4 separate regions of the Homo sapiens genome follow, and regions 2, 3 and 4 are each linked to region 1. Evidence: promoter capture Hi-C in human tissues and cell types (Jung and others, 2019). All regions are on one chromosome and are shown on one strand. The core of a region is centred on a gene start or on the middle of the fragment in contact, and the rest is flanking DNA. Distances in the headings are between cores, read along the strand shown. Region 1 holds the start of CBLN4 (cerebellin 4 precursor). Region 2 has its middle 85 kb from the start of CBLN4. Region 3 has its middle 110 kb from the start of CBLN4. Region 4 has its middle 68 kb from the start of CBLN4.

Region 1 (3,092 bases), core at 253-2,752:
TTTTCTATTTAACAATTCAACACAGTTTTTTTTTTTTTTTTTTTTTTTTTTTTGTCAAACTTCTCCCAGCCTGAAATTGAACAACCAAAGTTCTAGTTATTGAACAGCTGTCCCAGACAAGGAAGGCAGGGTGCTTACCCCTACAGGAAATAAAAGGAACTAAATTCAACTCAGCACCCACCCTCAAAAGACTGCATCAAATGAGAAGAAATTGCTGCTGTTAACCAGGCAGACATCCCTAAAATCTGGAAGAGAGTTACAAAGTGCAGAGAGGGATCAGGTGAAGATTGTGCTGGGCTTAGGGTGGGGCATCAAAGCTGGGTAAATGGTGGCCATCTTCAGAAGGCACTAGTTCACCTTGTTTGGTTGTAGCTTAGATAGGTAACTTTCAACATTTTAACAAATAGCATGGTACTAGCACCTGCCAGCCGGAACTGACACCGGCCTGTAGTCTCAGCTACTGGGGAGGCTGAGGTAGTAGAATCGCTTGAGCCCAGTAGTTTTGCATCTAGCCTGGGCAATATAGCGAGACCACCCCCCACCACAAGTAAAATAAAATCATAAAGTCAAAACACCTGATACTGGCCCCACTGGAGCAGAATCTGAAGGCCCCTGTGGCACCAAGTATTAACACTTTAGTTGAGAGATTATAGGGAGGTGAGGGTTAGGGGATTCCTCGTAGTGTCTTCAATTTTAACAGTTGGAGCTGGTGCTTATAGCTCAATGCCCGGCCCTTCTGAAGGAAGGGAAAAAGGCTGGAGACGAGGTTCACCTTGTTTTGTGGAGGGCTCGAATGCCACGCTCATGAGGGCGTCCTTCACTCAGGAAGGAATGGGAGCCGTCCATCCCAAGGACCTCCCTCAATAAACATCCCTTCCATTCATAACTAGCCAATGCCATTTTAGGAGCTCCGAATGCCTGGAGGGGATACTGTTTTGGTTAAAGATACCATACGTGTCTGCCCTCTGGCAGCTGGAAGTGTAGAAGAAATTGGGGAAGGGGCGCCATGACCCCACAGCATCACAGAATTGGAAAGCTGGCGGGATGGGGGTGGGGAGGACCTTAGTTAACGCCGCGCCCCCCTCTCAGAGAGGGTTAGTGACTCGGCCAAGTTCACGCAGCCGGGTCCAGACAGAGACAAACCTCCCTTCCCCGTGGTAGCTGCAGAAGAGGAAGGGAACTCTTGCAAATCAGAGGCCAAGATAGCAGTGGAGTGGCACGGGGGCGGAAAGCGCATCCAAAGGGGAGAAAAATGCTGTATTCCTAGGAGTGGGATTGTCTTTTATTTTTATTTTTATTTTTATTTTTTTATTGTTGTTGGCACGGTTTCGGAGGACTTATTCTTGCTGAGTTAACTCCCTCTCCCACTCTTTTTTTTGGCCATGCCTGGGGAGGATTCGCGGTGTGGGGGGAAGGCGCGCCCCTGCGGCTTCTGAGGCTCATCTTCCCGGAGCGGAAGGAAGGAATCAGGCACCTCCTCCCAGCCGCCCCCACGGGCTCTGGTCCGCCCCAAGGCTTCCCTGAGCTCGCCAGGCCCCAGGGCTGTGTGGGGCGGGCTCCCGGCCAGGCGCGGTCGGGACGCCCGCCGGTCCCCAGGTTCGGGGCAGCGCGCAGCGCGGGTCCGCGGCGGCTTATCCTTTTTCGCGACCCGGCCTGGCAGCGCCGCGCTCCGCTTGGAGGGCACTCGGCGGCAGAGTTCCGCGCTGGGAGGGGTGAGGGGACCAGCCGCCTCCTCTGCGGACTCAGATCGAGCAGGAGAGAGTGGGCGCGGAGCTGGGGCCAGCGCAGGGCCGTGGGCTCCTCTCTGGGCACGCATCCTTTACGCCACGGGCTTTCAGGGGCTGAGGGGCCTCGAACCTTGCCAATCACCAGTGCTGTGCGCCCCGCTTGCTTTGGGGTGCGTTAAACGTCAGGAGAGAGCTGCTCAGATGGGGTCACCAGACGCCTTCTCCCCCTTTTCTCGGAGCCCGCGGGTTGCGCGATAAGCCAACCCAGCCGGACGCTGCGCTCCTATAAATAGAGCGCGTGTGCCCGCTTCGCGCTCTCCGGGCTGCACGAGGGACGAGAAAGTTGTGCGCAGGGACTGGGGGCGGGCGGCCAGGCAGGAGAGGACCCCGCCGGACCAGCCGCCCTGAACGCTGCGCCCGGCGCCCTGGACCTGATCCTGCGAATCCGCGCTTTCGGTGCGAGGGACCTGGCTAGCCGCTGCCTCCCTCCCTACCTCTGGGTGACACCAGGTTTGGGGGATTTTTTTGACCAGGCGAAAGTGGGAGTCGCTGGCGTCCTGGCCATGAACACAGCCTCGCGTTCTTCTCAGCCTGGGAAGGACCTTCTGCCTCTGTAACTCGTCCCTGCCGCAAGCCAGACAGGACTGGCACCCGCGCCGCTGGGCACCCGCCACCCTTGTGGCTTCTCTTTGAGTCCCCTCTTTTTGTTCCTGCTCCGTGGTTTAGCTGGTGGTGCTTGAGTTTGGGGTGAGAATTTATTATTATTATTATTTTTTGCCTTGAGGTGTGAATGTGAGGGTTTGATGACTTTCAGATGTCTAGGAACCAGAGTGGGTGCAGGGGCCCCAGGCAGGGCTGATTCTTGGGCGGAGGAGAGTAGGGTAAAGGGTGCTGCATGAGCTCCTTAAAGGACAAAGGTAACAGAGCCAGCGAGAGAGCTCGAGGGGAGACTTTGACTTCAAGCCACAGAATTGGTGGAAGTGTGCGCGCCGCCGCCGCCGTCGCTCCTGCAGCGCTGTCGACCTAGCCGCTAGCATCTTCCCGAGCACCGGGATCCCGGGGTAGGAGGCGACGCGGGCGAGCACCAGCGCCAGCCGGCTGCGGCTGCCCACACGGCTCACCATGGGCTCCGGGCGCCGGGCGCTGTCCGCGGTGCCGGCCGTGCTGCTGGTCCTCACGCTGCCGGGGCTGCCCGTCTGGGCACAGAACGACACGGAGCCCATCGTGCTGGAGGGCAAGTGTCTGGTGGTGTGCGACTCGAACCCGGCCACGGACTCCAAGGGCTCCTCTTCCTCCCCGCTGGGGATATCGGTCCGGGCGGCCAACTCCAAGGTCGCCTTCTCGGCGGTGCGGAGCACCAACCAC
Region 2 (2,945 bases), core at 363-2,862, 85 kb before region 1:
AGTCTCTTAAAATTTCTCATCCCTGTTTTGATAGCGTATACCTTTTACTGTTCAGAGAGGAAAATAAAAGGGAATCTGAACTCAAAAGATGACATAAGAAAGATGTACACTTTCTGTTCAATATCTTCTGGTTATTTTTGTTGTGGCTATTATTCTTTCACAAGGGTCGCTTCACATTGTGCCATCTCACTTTGCACCTTGGCTTAGAAGAAATTCATCGTGGTTGTCAGTGTTATCTTGGGGTTTCTTGAGCTCAAAAGATGATGCTAACCAATTTACCTTTTGAGTAGAATCATGGTCTCAAGCCTTACCCTGGTAAGCTTTCCTTCTGGATGAGGCTTAGACAGGGAGATCTGTAGGGAGCTCTCTGGGCAACTACCTGGGTCAAGAGTGAAATAGTCACGAGACCTTCACAGTGAAGTTGTAATATCAAAACGACTAGTTTGTGTAATTGACTATGGAAATTGGTCAATTCAATTAAAAATAGTCAGTGATTCTAAGTTGCATAATTGGAATCTTATTCTGCAAGACATGGGCTTCTTTAAGAACATTGAGTAACAGTTTTTCTGAGTGTCACTAGTTCCTTCAACACCTCATGAAATGGGGTGTGTGCATGCATGTGTGTGTGATGGGGCTTGAGGATAGGAAGGGTGAAGAGGAAATACCTTGTCAGTGCCATCCTGCTCCCTTGCAACTATCAGGCTATTCCTGTAATTTTTTGACTCTTTAAAAAAATTTTTAGCTCATTTAAAAAAATTAAAATGTTTAAATATATTTTATAATTGCAAAAATAATACAAGCCTGTTGTAATTTCAGGCCCAAATCCACTTCCTAGGTGCCACTTGTAACAGTTTGACATGTCCTTAAAGAATTTTTCAATGCACATATAAACATATACTAATGACATTTATTTTTAAAATAATTATACTACAACTTTTTTGTCATATTAATATAGCATCTTCCCATCTAAGCGTATATCATTCTACCTCATTCTTTTCAATGCTACATAAAATTCCATATATTCTCCAATTTATTTACTCATTTTTCTATGGTTGTACACTTAAGATGGTGATTCTTTGCAGAAAGAGAAAAAAAAACAGGCTGCAATAAATGACTGGTGTGTGTGTGTGTGTGTGTGTGTGTGTTTACATGGACTTTTAAATTCTTCCTCATGCTTCTATATAAATGAAAAATTTCACTTTCTTATGAAAACCCCCAAAATAGGGCCAATAGTTCCTTATAGAAGTTGATGCTTTCTGAATAGTTTCTTTTTCCTTTTTTTCCAGTTAATCCAACAACGTGTAGAGTTTATTCCTTAAGTGAAGTGGGCATTGTGTGAAACATTCCATTGCTTAATTACCTCTGAATCACTTGTCATAGCCCTAATAAAAATGTACACCCATGGCCGTGAATGCTTAATCACATTTGCTGGAAGGAGAGTAAGCTATTGAGAGAGAAGAACAGGAGGTTGTTAAATGTTGGGTCTTGTTTAGAATATAAAACACTTTCTCCACACTGGCAATGAAGTGCCTCGCCTGAGACCTGTGGGTTGGGAGTTACAGAGCTGGTACTGGTGGTCTCCAGAGAATCCCAGGCCCTTGTCTGAACATGTAGGGCTTGGGGGTTGGAGACTGGAAGAGGGGAGTGTTTAATTTTACAAAAGTATTCTGCTTCTTATAAAAGATCAGCCTCTGGCCTTCTTTCAGATAACCTGTTTAATTAAGTTCAACAAATACTTACTGAAACCCTACAATATGCACATTCTTGGTACTGAGATCAACCGGTGATCAAAGCAGATAAGAAACGTACCTTCATGGAGTTTGCATGCGAGTAGCAGGGCACAGATTTGAACAAAGCCACTAATAAAGATACAGCATCAGAGAGGCCAAGAAATACAGTGTGTAGAGGCAAGTGACAGAGAGGGGTGGGATGGTTGGTGGTCAGGGAAAGGCCCTCTTCAGAGGAGCCAGCGAGTAGGGTTTAAATGAGGTGAGTAAATGGGCCAAGCAGTATCTTGGGACAGATCATCTGTTTAGGACCAAGGATCATTCATTAATTCTCCTGGTGAAGATGCTGCCTTCGCAGACTTGATCTTGGGAGTTTCTTCACTTCATGGCGAGCAAAATTTTTGAGAGATTTCCCAATAAGTAATCCTTGTTGTAGCTTTGCTATCCAGCATTAAGTACTCAATATCTACACGTAGCTAGTAGATACCATATTAGACAGCAAATATAAAGAACTTTCTATCTTTGTCAAAAATTGACAGTGTTGTACTAGAGGATTTTTAATGGTTAGATGCATTATTGCCAATAACAACAATACTGATGATGGTATGTAATGGTAATTCATGATACTGATATTATTTATCATTTACTAGGCATGTAATATATGCACTTTACATATATTATCTTATGCCAACCTCATCAAAACCCCATTTAAACAGGTAGATTTACTCTCATTCTACAAAGAGAATTCTCAGAGGGTTGAGTAAGTTACCCAAGGTAGTACTGCTAATAAATGGGGGAACTGGGGTTACAACACATTTTGGCTGAAATGAATGCCCATATTCTCAGCCACTGTAGTATGTGGCTTATGCTGCTTTTAGATCCATGGGATAGTTCCCAGAGCTGAAAAAAATTCCCAAAAGGGACAGACAGGATGGCTTTTAGTAGGGAGATGACTCTATTCTATTATGGAATAACTGGAATACTCAGTTGACATATCAACCACTTTAAACTTCTCTGCAGCTAAAAGTCTAATGAAAATTTCAACTGGTGTCCCCTTCTCAATATACTTTGTTGTTGTCTGTTGAAAACTTGTAACTGTACAAATGTACAGTGTCTATAGAGTAATAGGAGTCCCTGCAGTTGTGCAAGAAGCAATCTGAACAATGCTAGGTGGTGGCTAAGTTCTATGTGGTCTTTTGTTAAGTGTAGGGAGACTTT
Region 3 (2,810 bases), core at 73-2,572, 110 kb before region 1:
CTCCCTTCATTGTAATTTTACAATTCTTTGTGAAACTATTGGAATAATGTCTGTCTTCTACCATGCTATACCCTCCATGAAGGCAGAGTCTCTGTTCATTTTTGCTCCCATTATACCCTGGCTCAGTGTCTGTAATATGGTGGGTGCTGAATGCATACCTGTGGAATGAATGAATACGAGTGAATTACTCTATGATGATTTTATTCGTGTCATTATCTTACTGAGTGCCTAATAACAGCTGTGCTAAATTCTAGGAAGAGAAAAGTGCATGGTCTCCATTCTCTCACAGTCAAGAAATCTGTTTAATTTCCTTAAGTGAGCATTTCTCTAAAAGATTTTTTGAGCATAGAAGAACTTTTAACACCATGGCACAGCTATTAACATCATATGGTATTAGATTCTGCAAAAAAATTTAGAGATTGCTGTGTTAGAATTCCCATGGGAGCATGGATCACATATCATCAATTCATTTGTTCACCTATCCAAGTGTCCATCTGCCCAACCATCAAGCATTCCACCCAACATATATTTCATGCAGCTTGTGATGTGTCTGGCACTAGAGACTTAGAGCTGAGTGAGATGAGCTCCCTGCCACATGGTGCTTACATTCAGGTGGAAATGATATGCAATACAGATTTAATGTTTGCGGGTAGACCACAAGGTCAGGAGTTCAAGACCAGCTTGGCCCAGATGATGAAACCCTGCCTCTACTAAAAATACAAAAAATTAGCCAGGCGTGATGGCAGGTGCTTGTAATCCCAGCTACTTGGGAGGCTGAAGCAGGGAATTGCTTGAACCTGGGAGGCAAAGTTTGCAGTGAGCCGAGATTGCACCACTGCACTCCAGCCTGAGCAGCAGAGCAACACTCCATAAAAAAACAAAAAACAAAAAACAAAAAAAGAATTATATATATATGCACATATTTTAACTAATCTAGATCCATATTCAAATAACAGTATATGCTTCATGTGCGTTATAACAGAGTTTGCCCATTTCTTCCCTCCTGTCTCTGTGATGTTACTATAATTCATTTCACTTACCCATATGCTATAATCACCAAATACATTGTTACTATTATTACTTTAGACGGATGCTTATCTGTTAGATGAATTAAACATAAGGAAACTGATATAGTTTGGATATTTGTCCCCACCCAAATCTCATATTGAAATGTAATCCCAGTGTTGGTGGTGGGGCCTGGTGGGAGGTGATTGGATCATGGGGGTAAATTTTTCATGAATGGTTTAGCATCATCACCCTTGGAACTGTCCTCACAATAGTGAGTGAGCTCTTGTGAGATCTGGTCATTTAAAACTGCAGCACCTCCCCGTTCTGTCTCTTGCTCCTGCTCTGGCCACGTGACATGTCTGCTTCCCCTTCCGCTTCCACCACGATTGGAAACTTCCTGAGTCCTCCTGAGAACCTGAGCAGATGTCAGCATCATGCTTCCTGTACAGCCTGCCTAACCATGAGTCAATTAAACCTCTTTTCTTTATAAATTACCCAGTCTCAGGTATTTCTTTATAGCAATGGGAGCACTGACTAACATAAAAACCCAGAAATTTTCTCTTCATTTATTTCTTTTATGATGCTCTTCCTTTCTTTATGTGGATTCAGTTTTCCGATCTGTATCATTTTCCTTCTGCCTGAAGAACTTTTAACATTTCTTCCAGGGCAGGTCTGTTGAAGATAAAGTCTTTCAATTTTTATTTGTTGATAAAGCTTATTTCTCTTTGCTTTTGAAAGATAATTTCACTGGGTATAGAATTTTAGAATTCCACCCCCCAACACTTTAAATATTTTATTCCACTCTTTTCTGGCTTGCATGGTTTCTGAAGTGAAGTCTACTGTAATACATATATTTGTTCCTTCATAGGTGAGATGCTTTCTCCCTCTATGGCTTTTTTGAGATTTCTCTCTGTTTCTCATTTTCTGCCGTTTGAATATGATATGCCTGTGTGTGTGTGTATTTGTGTGTGCATGTGTGTGCGTATTTTGGTATTTATTCCAATTGTTGTTTTCAGCGCTTCCTCTATGTGTGGTTTGGTGTCTATCATTAATTTTGTGGAGTTCTCAGCCATAATTCAATTATTTCTTCTGCTCCTTTTTCTCTTTCTTTTCCTTTTGGTATCCAATTACAAATATGTTACACCTTTTGTAATTGTACCACAGTATTTACTCTGTTTTCTACTTTTTTTTTTCTTCAATTTTCTTTTGTCTTTGCATTTCAGGTTGGGAAGTTTCTTTGACCTATCTTCAAGCTTGCTGATTTTTTTCTTTGTCTGTGTTCAGTTTACTGATGAGCTTGTCAAAGGCTTTCTTCATTTCTGGTGCTGTGTTTTTAATTTCCATTTGATTCTTGCATGTTGTCTTCTTTTTTTGAGAATAAGGGGTTAACACATTAGTTACAGTTATTCAACATTTTTTATCTGATAATTCCAACATCGGTGTCATATCTGAGTCTGGTTCTGATACTCGCTTTGACTCTTCAGACCATGCTTTTCTTGGTATTAGGAGCTGACGTGAATAGGCCTTTACTGTGTGGATTTGTCATAATATGGATAAGAATCTGACTGTTTTGTGTTTAATGTTTGCTGTAACTGTAGATACCAGAGGCTTCAAATTTGTCCTTGTTTTCTTCTCTCCTCTTAAGCTTATACTCCTCAGAGAGAGTCCTTGTTTTGGAGCTCTTTTAGCTGTAACACACTATCATTACACTGGAGTCCTGTTGGCATGGTAGTAAGTAATAGGGGAGGGGGAAACTTCTAAAATCTACCAGTTAAATCCCAGTCCTGTAGTGCACCTGTCTC
Region 4 (3,029 bases), core at 35-2,534, 68 kb before region 1:
AATGTATCAATCTAGACACTGACTCTAGAAACTCTGCATTCTCCCAAAACAAGCCATCTACAACAGAAACATTGGTAAACAATGCAAAACTTACTTAAGATTTCATAGGCTAGATTTAAGAAAGTGTTTACGTCAACACACTTTCAAGATCTTTGGATCTCATTATACTTTTGTGTGGCCTGCCACAGTTTCGTGGATGCTAGCAGAAGACATGAAACTCCTGGGTCAGAGACAAAAGGCATTTTGTTATTCATAGCAATAATAATTGTCAGAGTATCAGCATCTTTTTTTGTTGCCTGAGCCAAATCCCACAGGGTGACACAAAGAGAGCCAGATAACATCTGCACATGCAGCACATTGGTTACAAGAGAAGAATACCAAATTTAGGAAACTTGAATTTTTTAGAATTTAGTTTTTTAATTTTTTTAGAGATGAAGTCACCCAGGCAGGAGGCAGTGGTGTGATCATAGTTCACTATAGCGTTGAAGTAATCCTTCCACATCAGCCTGCCTAGTAGCTGGGACTACAGGCTTCACCATGCCACCATGCCTGGCTTTTTTTTTTTTTTTTTTTTTTTTTTTTAGTTTTTAAGAGAGAGGTTTCCCTGTGTTGCCCAGGCTAGTTTCGAAGTCCTAGTCTCTCAAGTGATCCTCTTGCTTCAACCTCCTGAGTAGCTGGGATTATAGGCCCAAAACACCATGCTCAGCTGAAACTTGAATATTTTCTAATGGGCAATAAGCCTGCCAGATATTTGCCTTGGGGTAAACATTGTCTTTTTTATATTAGAAATGAACAAATCTGCCATTTGCTCTGGAAGGAGACACTGCCTCTAACTTCCAAAGCTCTTTGCTATACAAGTGTCCTTGGAAAGACAGTCTGAGACAAAGGTCAGTGCAGAAACAGAAGAGACCAATGGAGAGCTAGCCTTCCATCACATGCCTGATAATAAATTCCTCAAAACCTTCACTACATCTCATTGAGTTCCATAATTTCTCTCTCCTATATCCTTACTGGCATTTTTCTTTCTTTCTCCTTCATGCTTCCTTTACAGAGCATTTGGTCTTTTTTTTCTGTTATCTGAGCAGTTCAGCTTTACTACCAAACTTGAATGCCCATATTTCTACAAACCCAAAGTCTCCGATTTTCCTTAGAAGGTGGTTTCACAGTCTTTTCTTAATAACCTAGAATGCTCTTTGGGGTTCATCGTTTATTCAAGTGGCTAATGAAGGTATCTCGTCCAAATCTATACTTCTCCCCATAAGAATGTAATTCTAGCATGCTGTGAATGTTCTTATAAAAAGTCTGTCCTGGGTATAGTGAGGATGTGAGTTAAGAGAAGTCAGTTTTTCCAGAGTGAAGAGAATGGGAATTGGTGTGGATGATTTGCAAGAGGAGAAGGAGCCATAGTGTTTGTAATGATTGCTTACATACTTCCTAATTTTCTGCTTCTTGATGTATCTTAATCTACTTTACCATTCTTCAGTGGTTGGGCATTTGGATGAGTTCCAGTGTCTTATAGTTGTAGAGAGCAAAGTAATCATGTCTGCAATATTACTGTGTTGTGAACATTATTGAAAGTGTGCTGGGTGCCTGACCTGGTGTTATTCTGGAGTTAATGAGGTAAATAAGGCATACCTTTATTTTCAAAGAGCTTATAGTCTAGTGGAGCAGACAAGCTTATGTGTGCAAACAGATCACTGACTATCATAGAGAGACTTAGTAAGTACTTGTTGAATTAATAGTTGCTCAATGAATGGGCCAAACTTATGTTCAGTGTCTATTGGATTCACTGGGGTGAGCTCCCGTGGAATGATGGGCTTCAGATACATGCTGAGTCTGGAGGATGGAGGAGGGAAAGGGGAGGCCCACTAGGCAGGATAAATGGAGAGAGTCAGATGAAGAGGTGAGAATATGTGGGATGGCTTTGAGAAACAAGTTAGTAATTTGGTTGTGGAGAGAAAGGTTGGGGAGTGTGGTTTGAGATCGAATAGTGGTGGACTTTGAATAATAGGCTTTGGTCTTTTGAATGATGTGAGGAGCCCCTGAAAATTATTATTTCCAAGGAGGCATGACATACTTTCTCAGATGTGGTGCATATTTGAGATCAAAAACTATTAATCTAATGGTTTAAAATACAAAATGGGAAATTCTTTGTGGCCTGATTGTAACGACATAGGGGAAGTTCAAATTGCATGTGTTTTAAATCTTTCTAGAAAGCAGAGTAGTAAGTCTTAAATAATCAGAGAACACTTTTTGGGGAGTGAAATCACAAAAAAATTTCCTTAACATAATGCAAATCAAACCTCCGTGTTCTAGGGAAACACTGGCAGAGAAGATACTTGAGAGGAGTCGGAGAGCAGCTTTTCTTTCATTGGCTTTGTGCTCCCATCGTAGTGTTTGCCTGTGTGTATTTGTGTGCTTCTATTCACGTGCAATCTAGAATTGATGAAGATTTGCTCATTAATCAACGAGTCTCTTTGGATTTCATAACCACGTTTGACTTTTACCAAATTTGTTATTTCAAAGCAGTAAGCCCAGTCTGTCACCACTTTCCCACACTGGCTCCTGTGATCAAGAATGAGTTAAGCATAGGAATGATTCTCTAATGTGGCATCTTATGGTGTGACAAAGCTAAAAAAAAAGGAATTTATATTCAGACAGACTGGGTCCAAATTCCAGCTCTTTTATTTACTAGGGATGGGACTTGGGCCAAGTTACCCAATAGCTTTGAACTTCATGTTTTCCTTGGTACAAATTATACAAAACACAACCCAATTACAGGATTTTAAGAATTAACTGGGACAAAATTTTAGTGTGTAATGGCCTCCATCCCTCCCTTCTTTGTATTCTCTTTCCATTCTTTCCCCTTCAGTAATTGTGTTAGTAACACAGTTACAGAGAATTTTCTGGGACATTTACAGACTGGCCTGAACCCTTGCACCATCCTATGATAGTTTTTCTTCTCAGGAGTGGAAAGTGCGTTCTTCAAACAGAGCATAACTGCTGTTGTGCTCCATTTTGTTTCCTAC

The links. Contacts are between HindIII fragments. The study calls those that stand out against the background at their distance.
Region 2: a fragment that was not itself captured here is called in contact with the fragment with the promoter of CBLN4 in region 1 in 3 of the 25 tissues and cell types used here (dorsolateral prefrontal cortex, mesendoderm cells and stomach).
Region 3: a contact is called between a fragment that was not itself captured here and the fragment with the promoter of CBLN4 in region 1, in 5 of the 25 tissues and cell types used here (dorsolateral prefrontal cortex, hippocampus, lymphoblastoid cells and 2 more).
Region 4: a contact is called between a fragment that was not itself captured here and the fragment with the promoter of CBLN4 in region 1, in 2 of the 25 tissues and cell types used here (dorsolateral prefrontal cortex and mesendoderm cells).

What each region holds. Positions count from the first base shown.
Region 1 is chr20:56,003,929-56,007,020 of GRCh38, reverse strand. CBLN4 (cerebellin 4 precursor) reads left to right here and starts at 1,502. Exons shown (of 3, transcript NM_080617.6): 1 at 1,502-3,092. The coding sequence starts at 2,850. The HindIII fragment of the contact is 15,736 bases long and covers 1-3,092 here.
Region 2 is chr20:56,088,721-56,091,665 of GRCh38, reverse strand. No RefSeq gene overlaps it. Among named protein-coding and RNA genes, the nearest start is that of CBLN4, 85 kb to the right of the region's middle. The HindIII fragment of the contact is 4,002 bases long and covers 1-2,945 here.
Region 3 is chr20:56,113,416-56,116,225 of GRCh38, reverse strand. No RefSeq gene overlaps it. Among named protein-coding and RNA genes, the nearest start is that of CBLN4, 110 kb to the right of the region's middle. The HindIII fragment of the contact is 6,021 bases long and covers 1-2,810 here.
Region 4 is chr20:56,072,022-56,075,050 of GRCh38, reverse strand. No RefSeq gene overlaps it. Among named protein-coding and RNA genes, the nearest start is that of CBLN4, 68 kb to the right of the region's middle. The HindIII fragment of the contact is 4,553 bases long and covers 1-3,029 here.